Linked DNA regions of Homo sapiens: region 1 is linked to region 2. Evidence: promoter capture Hi-C in 16 types of primary human blood cells and fetal thymus (Javierre and others, 2016). All regions are on one chromosome and are shown on one strand. The core of a region is centred on a gene start or on the middle of the fragment in contact, and the rest is flanking DNA. Distances in the headings are between cores, read along the strand shown.

Region 1 (4,484 bases), core at 171-2,670, 250 kb before region 2:
TGCTTCCTTTTCTGTTTATGTTGGGTTATTGTGATTTATTATTATTATTTATGGGAGCTCTTTATATATTAGGGAAATTAGCCCTTTGTCAGCGAGTTGCAAATATTTTTTTCCCCAATTTGCTATTGTCTTTCAACTTTGTGGTAGCTTTTTTTCGTTGTTTTTGTTGTTGTTGTTTTTTGAGATGGAGTCTTGCTCTGTTGCCCAGGCTGGAGTGCAGTGACACGATCTCGGCTCACTACAACCTCTGCCTCCCAGGTTTAAGCGATTCTCATGCCTCAGTCTCCCTGAGTAATTGGGATTACAGGAGCCCACCACCAAGCCTGGCTAATTTTTGTATTTTTAGTAGAGACAGGTTTTTGCCATGCTGGCTAGGCTGATTTTGAACTCCTGACCTCAGGTGATCCACCTGCCTCGGCCTCCCAAAGTGCTGGGATTACAGGTGTGAGCCACTGTGCCTGGCCTGTGTTAACTTTTATATGCGGAACTTTATTTATTATTTTATTTTTGAGACAGGGTCTCACTCTGTTGCCCAGGCTGGAGTGCAGTGGTGAGATCTTGGCTCACTGCAGCCTCAACCTCCTGGGCCCAAATGATCCTCCCACCTCAGACTCCTGAGTAGCTGGGACCACAGGCGTGTGCCACCATACCTGGCTAATTTTTGTATTTCAGTAGAGATGGGATTTCACCATGTTGCCCAGGCTGTTCTTGAACTCCTGTGCTCAAGTGATCCACCTGCCTCGGCCTCCCAAAATACTGGGATTATAGGCATGAGTCACTGTGCCCAGCCTAAATTTTTATTTTGTAGAATTATATATTGTGTATTTTCTCTTATAAGTAGGCTTTCTTTCTTTTGAGATAATTTTTAAAAAAATCTTACATGGTTTTCGTTAGTACTTTTATGATTAACAAACCTTCTTAATCATTACAAGTTCTAAATTGTTCAGTGGATAGTACTGAGTTCCCTGTTTCAGTTTATATCTGAGCTAGATTAGCAAGTCAGTCCTATGGAAATATAGAATAGTAGTAAGAAGCTTGGATTCTGGAGTTGATAAGATTGGAATTTAGGCCTTCCTGTTTCTGAACTGTATGGTTTGGGGCATGCTACTTAATTAACCTCTCAGAGCCTCACTGGCTTCATCTGTAAAATGGTGATAAGTACTTCTTAGTTTGAGGTGAAAATTGCATGAGATGAGATGATTCCCTTAAAGCCCTTAGCACAATCCTTGACAAGTTGGAAACAGTCATTAAATGTAAAGTATTACTGTGATAAAGATGATGACCATAGACTACTCTCTCAACTTTAACTACATCCCATAATTCATGACTCTAATCGGAAGGGGTTGAATAAAAAGATGTATTCCCAATTTGCCCACATTACCACTTCAACATCAACAGTCCGAGCACAGTAATTCTCAGCCTTGGCAGTCCATTAAATTACCTGAGTAGATTTTTAAACTCCCAATGCCTGGGTCTCTTTCCCAGCGACCTGGGGCCTGGATATGGCCCAAGCACCAGTATTTTTCAAAAACCCTTCAGGTGTTTCCAATGGGCAGCCAAGTTCTAGAACCACTATTCTAACACTAGGCCACTGGTTTCAGATATAAAGGAAAACACATTGCTTCTAAATAACAGTACTGTATATAGAAATCTTTTATGGGTAAAATGCCATGAATTCATTAGAAAGACATTATAAAGAACATAGAAGACTTGAGACAAATGTTAGAGATATGTGAGAAAAGGAATTACAAAACTAAAGATGTTCCTTGTATATATTTGTAAGGCATCTTTCTCAGAAAAGCTTGGGCAGCTATACTGTAAGTACTTTTATAATATTGCTGAGAGGTAAGGGAAATGAAATTTTCTATCTGTTAGATGTGTTAATGGAAGCATGGAGATAGGTCTCATGTCAGCTGTCCAATTAGAGAAATTTATGATTTTTTTTTTTTTTTTTTTTGAGACGGAGTCTCACTGTGTCCCCAGGCTGGAGTGCAACGGCATGATCTCAGCTCATTGCAACCTTCACCTTCCAGGTTCATACGATTCTCCTGCCTCAGCTTCCCGAGTAGCTGGGATTACAGGCGCACACCACCACGCCCAGCCAATTTTTGTACTTTTAGTAGAGACGGGGTTTCACCACGTTGGCCAGGCTTGTCTTGAACTCCTGACCTCAGGTGATCTGCCCGCCCCAGCCTCCCAAAGTGCTGGGATTACAGACATGAGCAGCCTCACCCGGCCTATGACTTTTATTACCCCATTGCTTTCCTGGATGATTCTCAAAAATAATTATTTCTTTACTTTTTATTTTTTAATGTTAAGGACACAGCTGCAACAAAAATAATTATTTCTAATCATCAGTAATATAGCTTATCCCTATATGAGCACTTTAGGAAGGATGTATAATGGTATTTTAGCTCATTAATGCTGTGGGAGTAGGGTATATAAGAAAATTAGCTATTATTGAATCCAAAGAAAGAGCAGTGTGGTCTAAAGACACTGACTGGACAAGGAGACTCAGGAGGCCTGGATTCTGGTTCCTCAGCTTCAATTTCCTCAGGTGCAAAATGGAAGAATTAACAGAGGTCCCAAAGGTTTCTTTCAGGTGTAAGTGATTACTGTCTCACTAAACCACCTAAGTATAAAGCCTTTCTTAAGTTAATCAGTCAATATTAATAGAAGCTGCAGGAAAATTGTTCTAGTTCAAACTTTTTTCTTTCTTTCTTTCTTTTTTTTTTTGAGACAGAGTCTCACTCTGTCGCCCAGGCTGGGGTGCAGTGGCTGGATATTGGCTCACTGCAAGCTCCGCCTCCTGGGTTCACGCCATTCTCCTGCCTCAGCCTCCCAAGTAGCTGGGACTACAGGCGCCCGCCACCATGCCTGGCTAATTTTTTGTATTTTTATTAGAGACGGGGTTTCACCATGTTAGCCAGGATGGTCTCGAACTCCTGACCTCGTGATCCACCCGCCTCGGCCTCCCAAAGTGCTGGGATTACAGGTATGAACCACCACGCCTGGCCTCAAACTTTAAAAATTTATATTCCGGGCCAGGTGCGGTGGCTCATGCCTGTAATCCCAGCACTTTGGGAGGCCAAGGCGAGTGGATCACCTGAAGTCAGGAGTTCGAGACCAGCCTGGCCAACATGGGGAAACCCCGTCTCTACCTAAAATACAAAAATTAGCTGGGTATGGTGGCAGGCACCTGTAATCCCGGCTACTCGGGAGGCTGAGGCAGGAGAATCACTTGAACGCAGGAGGCAGAGGTTGCATCAGGAGGCAGAGGTTGCATGAGCTGAGATCGTGCCACTGCACCCCAGCCTGGGCAACAGGGTAAGAGACTGTCTCAAAAATAAATAAATAATAAAACTTAAAATTCCAGTCTTTTTTTTTTCTTTGATGGAATTTTGCTCTTGTTGCTCAAACCGGAGTGCAATGGCATGATCTTGGCTCACTGCAACCTCTGCCTCCTGGGTTCAAGTGATTCTCCTGCCTCAGCCTCCCAAGTAGCTGGAATTACAGGCGTGTGCCACCATGCCCAGCTAATTTTGTATTTTTAGTAGAGACAGGGTTTCACCATGTTGGTCAGGCTGGTCTTGAACTCCTGACCTCATCCACCTGCCTTGGCCTCCCAAAGTGCTGGCATTACAGGTGTGAGTCACTTCGCCTGGCCCATAGTCTTGTTTTGTCTTTACTTCTAAGGCAGTATGTGTCTCAAAATTGATATTTTAATCAAACTATGTCTTGATAGTATTAGATTAATATATGTTCTGCCTAACTAGAATATTCCCATTTTACGTGTCTTCATGCTGAAGGACGACTAATGGAGATTGATGGGGTTGTCGCTTGAGACTGGCGAGGATATGTTGGAGCATGAGTTCTCTGTTGCCCTTCAAATCATGCCCTGTAGATGACTTCATTTAGGACTGATCCTGGGGTCTTCCTTCTACATTTTATTCTAATATTTTCTACTTCTCTTTTTGCATTATATTACTCGTGATCATCAGGATTCACATAATTCTTGTATTGGTTGTATTTGCATTGTCTCTTTCCTATAAGATTATACATTTTTTGAAGCCAGGATACATTTATTTACATTGTATCCCTTACATGAGCTAGTACAGTGTCTTGGCACACAAAAGGAGCTTGACAAATGTTTAAATTGTTAAAAATTAAATAATTTTAATATCATTGCCTTCTCTTTTTTTGTGCCACTTTAGCTTTGTTTCCTTGACAATATTTCCAAAAAAATTTTTTACACAAAGTCCTATGTTATGACAGTATCCTTTAACTACTTTCTGAATACAGCAATGAGCTTTTTATTCTCAAAAGCCAAGAAGTAGTAATTAACAAAGCAGGGAAGAAATCATGATACCAAAATACAGAAATAGATCATAAATTAGGTAAGCTTTTAGTTGTGAATGTGTAGAATACTTTAAATGTTATTTCATGAGGCAGTTTAGGTAGTCTATTCATTTGAGTATTATAAA
Region 2 (4,083 bases), core at 1,398-3,897:
CCACCTCAGCCTCCCAATGTGCTAGGATTACAGGGGTGAGTCACCACGCCCAGGCTGGACTTTATTTAAATGCTGAAATTTAAAACTCTTGGTTAATGATAGGAGGCATTTCAGGTGGTTCTCTGTGGCACTTCTCAACCTTTGTCCACAAGGACGCACTTGGCCTTCCTATCAGTTGTATGTAAATCCCTCTCATTTATTGTGGCTCCACTCCTCTCTCTCCACCTAGGAAGAGCTTTGCAGACATTACCTTTAATCTAAAAACAAACCAATAGGAAATAGTGGCACTTTTAGTAGGTAACAAATTACTGGAACATTCCTCCCGACACTTCATCACACTACAATGACACCACATGATGCCTCATGACTCCCAGTGAAAAAGACTACTTTAGTAGTCACCACAATGCGCTGGGAAACAAGAAACAAAAGACAAAAAATAAAGTCCCTTCCCCGCCCCCCATTTCGTAGAGTAACCTTTGTTGGAGCAGTAACTTAACCTCTCTATACTTCAGTTCTCCTTACATACAAAATGAAAGCTACAAGAAGTTCTTATGAAAATATCAGTTAAGTGGTTTTTTTAAATTTTTAATTTTTATTTATTATTTTCTTTTTGAGACGCAGTCTCTGTCACCCAGGCTGGAGTGTGGTGGCATGATCTTGGCTCACTGCAACCTCTGCCTCCCGAGTTCAAGCAATTCTCCTGCCTTGGCCTCCCGAGTAGCTGGGATTACAGGTGCGCACCACCTCACCCAGCTAATTTTTGTATTTTTAGTAGAGATGAGGTTTCACCATGTTGGCCAGGCTCGTCTTGAACTCCTGACCTCAGATGATCTGCCCCCCTTGGCCTCCCAAAGTGCTGGGATTACAGGTGTGAGCCACTGCGTCCGGCCAAAATATCAGTTAAGTTTAATATTGTTTTGAGAGCTTCACTTCAATAAAATAGGATGGAGGGCCTGGCAGAGTAGAGAGGGATTCAAATGTAGAAGGCTTGAAATCGTAGGCTGAGGAATTGAATCGTTATGTAATGGGGGCTTGTAAAGATTACTGAACAGGGTAGTAGCATAATCATCAATATCTGTGTTTTAGGAGGAAAACTGGCAGCAGTGTGTAAAATAGGATAAAGTGATGGAAAATAGTGGAGTCAGGAGAGTATTGCAAAGGTGTAGACGAGAGTTGATGGTAATTGCTGTGAGAACTGGAAAAATTGGACTAATTAAAGAGGTATGGGCTGGGCGCAGTGGCTCACACCTGTAATCCCAGCACTTTGGGAGGTCGAGGCGGGCGGATCATGAGGTCAGGAGATCAAGACCTTCCTGGCTAACATGGTGAAATCCTGTCCTACTAAAAATACAAAAAAATTAGCCGGGTGTGGTGGCACACACCTGTAGTCCCAGCTACTCGGGAGGCTGAGGCAGGAGAATGGCGTGAACCCTGGAGGTGGAGCTTACAGTGAGCCGAGATCGCACCACTGCACTCCAGCCTGGGCGACAGAGCGAGACTCTGTCTCAAAAAAAAAAAAAAAAGAGGTATGAAGGACAATCAATTGTAGAAGCCATAGGATTTGGTTGGATATGAGGAGTAAGGGAGATAAGGATTTATTTCTTTCTTTTTTTGAGACAGAGTCTTGCTCTGTTGCCCAGGCTGGAGTGCAGTGGTGCAATCTCGGCTCACTGCAACCTCTGCCTTCCAGGTTCAAGCGATTCTTTTGCTTCAGCCTCCCAAGTAGCTGAGATTACAGGCACGCGCCACCACGCCCGGCTAATTTTTGTATTTTTAGTAGAGACGGGGTTTCACCATGTTAGCCAGGATGGTCTCAAACTCCTGACCTCAGGTGATCCGCCCGCCTTGGCCTCCCAAAGTGCTGGAATTAGAGACGTGAGCCACAGCGCCCGGCCCCTAGAGTACGGATTTCAATGGGTTAAGGGTTTCTGGTCTGAACATCTGAAGATGCCTTTCCTTAACTGAATGCAAGCTCAGGAACGTGTAGATTCTAGGATTAAGTATGATTTTCTCCCGTTATTTGAAATGCCTGTGGATCCCGTGTGATGCTAACCACCTGGACAGTTAGAGTAGGTGTGGGGAAATTTCTTCTAACAAAGGAAAGGAATATTTTTGTAATGAAAACAGCTCATTTTTATAGTTCGCAACCATTAGTGCCCCAAACTCTGAGGTAGTTATTACCTCGCCAGCGGTAAAAGCTTGATTATAGTCCCTGATTACCGACTGTGTGAAGGTCCTTGTTTCCAGCAACTTCCATAGGCAAAATGATATTAATTGTGATTAATTATCGTGTGGCATAATACAAAGACCAGATGATGTATTATGGCTTCCGGAGGGCGCCTGCATCGTTTTTCGCTGGAGCCCTCGGGGCAGGGGAACTGGAGAGCTCCCTGGGTGGCCTTTGGCCCTTCCCTGGTCAGAGCCCGCCAGCTGCGAGGTGCCCCCAGCCATGAGGTCTGGGTCTTCAGGCTCTCCCGACTTCGGTGCCTTGACCTTGGGCAGAAGGCCCTGTTAACCTTCCTCGCTCACGGACTCGAGCGACCAGCGCCGGGGACGGGGCGGGCCGTCCTTAGGCCCCGCCCCTTCGCCTCCGCCCCGCCCCGCCCCGCTCCTGGCCGCCGGCTCCCTCCGGCAGCAGGGAGATGCGCGCCTGCGCCGGCCCTCGCCTCGGAGCAGCCATGATGGTGGGTGTTCTCCGCGGCGCCGAGTCCCGGGAGCGCGGTGGGGGCAGCGGGCGCGGGGCGGGCGCGGGGACCGCGCCAGCCTGTCACTAATGTCTCCCTTTGTGTCTCCCCCATCTCATCCTTTTCCCCGGCGCGCCGTGCCCGCCGACCCCACAGGAAGGCCTGGACGACGGCCCGGACTTCCTCTCAGAAGAGGACCGCGGAGTAAGTTCTGCCTTCCTTTCGCTCGCGGGACCCTGGACCCTCCTTCCCCATCCTGGGTCCCCGGGTGTGGTACGGGGATGGGTCCCCAGCCGCGCGGCACTCCCTCCCCGTAGTCCTCCTTTCGGTTTCCTCGCTGCACCGCGCCCCACCCTCCCGCAGCCCTTCCTCCCTAGGGGCCGCTCGGCTCCGATTCCCGGGGACCCGCGGCCGCTTTCTTGTCCCCCGCCGCTGTTCGGGCCTTCTGGTGGACCTCCACTCCCACGCGGGGCGGGGTGCAGGTGGCGAAGTGGAAATGGAGGCGGGAGATGGAACGCCCCCACCCTCCCTCGACACTTTGGGGCCATGAAAACCCATTCTCGGACCTTCCCAGCGGCACCCTCAATTTTCACCCGGTGTGGACATCTCGAACTTGCTCCCGCCCACCCTTCTGTCTCTCTCAAATAGTACAGGTGTAGTCTACATTACCATTTTGCAAGGATTTTTATAGTAGCCGAATCAACTCCTGTCCAGTGCCCTACTAGATTATGCAAAGTGCAGGTAGCCCATGGTATCTTTACTTTTTCTAATATCCAACAAATCCTGTCTTTGGCAGGATTTCCTTGGTGTTTTATTCCCCCTTAGCTTCTTTGAGGTATATTGACAAATACTGTTGATAATTGTATATACTTAAGGTATACATTATATTTTAATACACGAATACATTGTGAAATGAGTACCAAAATCAACCTGACATATCCATCACCTCACCTAGTTACCATTTTTTTTTGTGTGAGAACATTTGAGATCTAAGCAAATTTCAAGTATGTACCCTTTGACCAACATCGACGCTCCACCCACTCACCCCCCACATACACACTCCGCCAGGCCTTTGATAACCTCCATTCTGCCCTTGGTGTTCTGAGGTTAGTTGCATTCTACTTCAGAAAGAGCCTTCCGGGCTCTGATTCCTCCCTCCCACCCCACTCTCCACCCCCTTTTTCCTTGGCTGAAGGGTGGTAATCTTTATAGTCCCTTGTACAAGTGAGCACTTGGAAAATGTTGATATATGATAATTACCATTCAGCAAGGTTCCATGGTTCCTTCACATTTCACAGCCTGCACTTCAGTTTTCCCTTTTGCTTTTTCTTATCCGTTTTAATGTGAGAGAGACATCTGTTAGTGCATATTTGGTAGGTGATAAAATATTGTGGGATGT

What was found. Contacts are between HindIII fragments. The CHiCAGO score rates a contact against its expected background, and 5 or more counts as called.
Region 1: a contact is called between a fragment that was not itself captured here and the fragment with the promoter of SNX6 in region 2, in 1 of 17 cell types (total B cells). The highest score is 6.0, in total B cells.

What each region holds. Positions count from the first base shown.
Region 1 is chr14:34,877,780-34,882,263 of GRCh38, reverse strand. No RefSeq gene overlaps it. Among named protein-coding and RNA genes, the nearest start is that of BAZ1A, 4.7 kb to the right of the region's middle. The HindIII fragment of the contact is 767 bases long and covers 1,037-1,803 here.
Region 2 is chr14:34,628,712-34,632,794 of GRCh38, reverse strand. SNX6 (sorting nexin 6) reads left to right here and starts at 2,647. Exons shown (of 14, transcript NM_152233.4): 1 at 2,647-2,684; 2 at 2,841-2,888. The coding sequence starts at 2,679. RefSeq lists an enhancer at 2,324-2,373 and a silencer at 2,544-2,893. The HindIII fragment of the contact is 3,459 bases long and covers 2,201-4,083 here.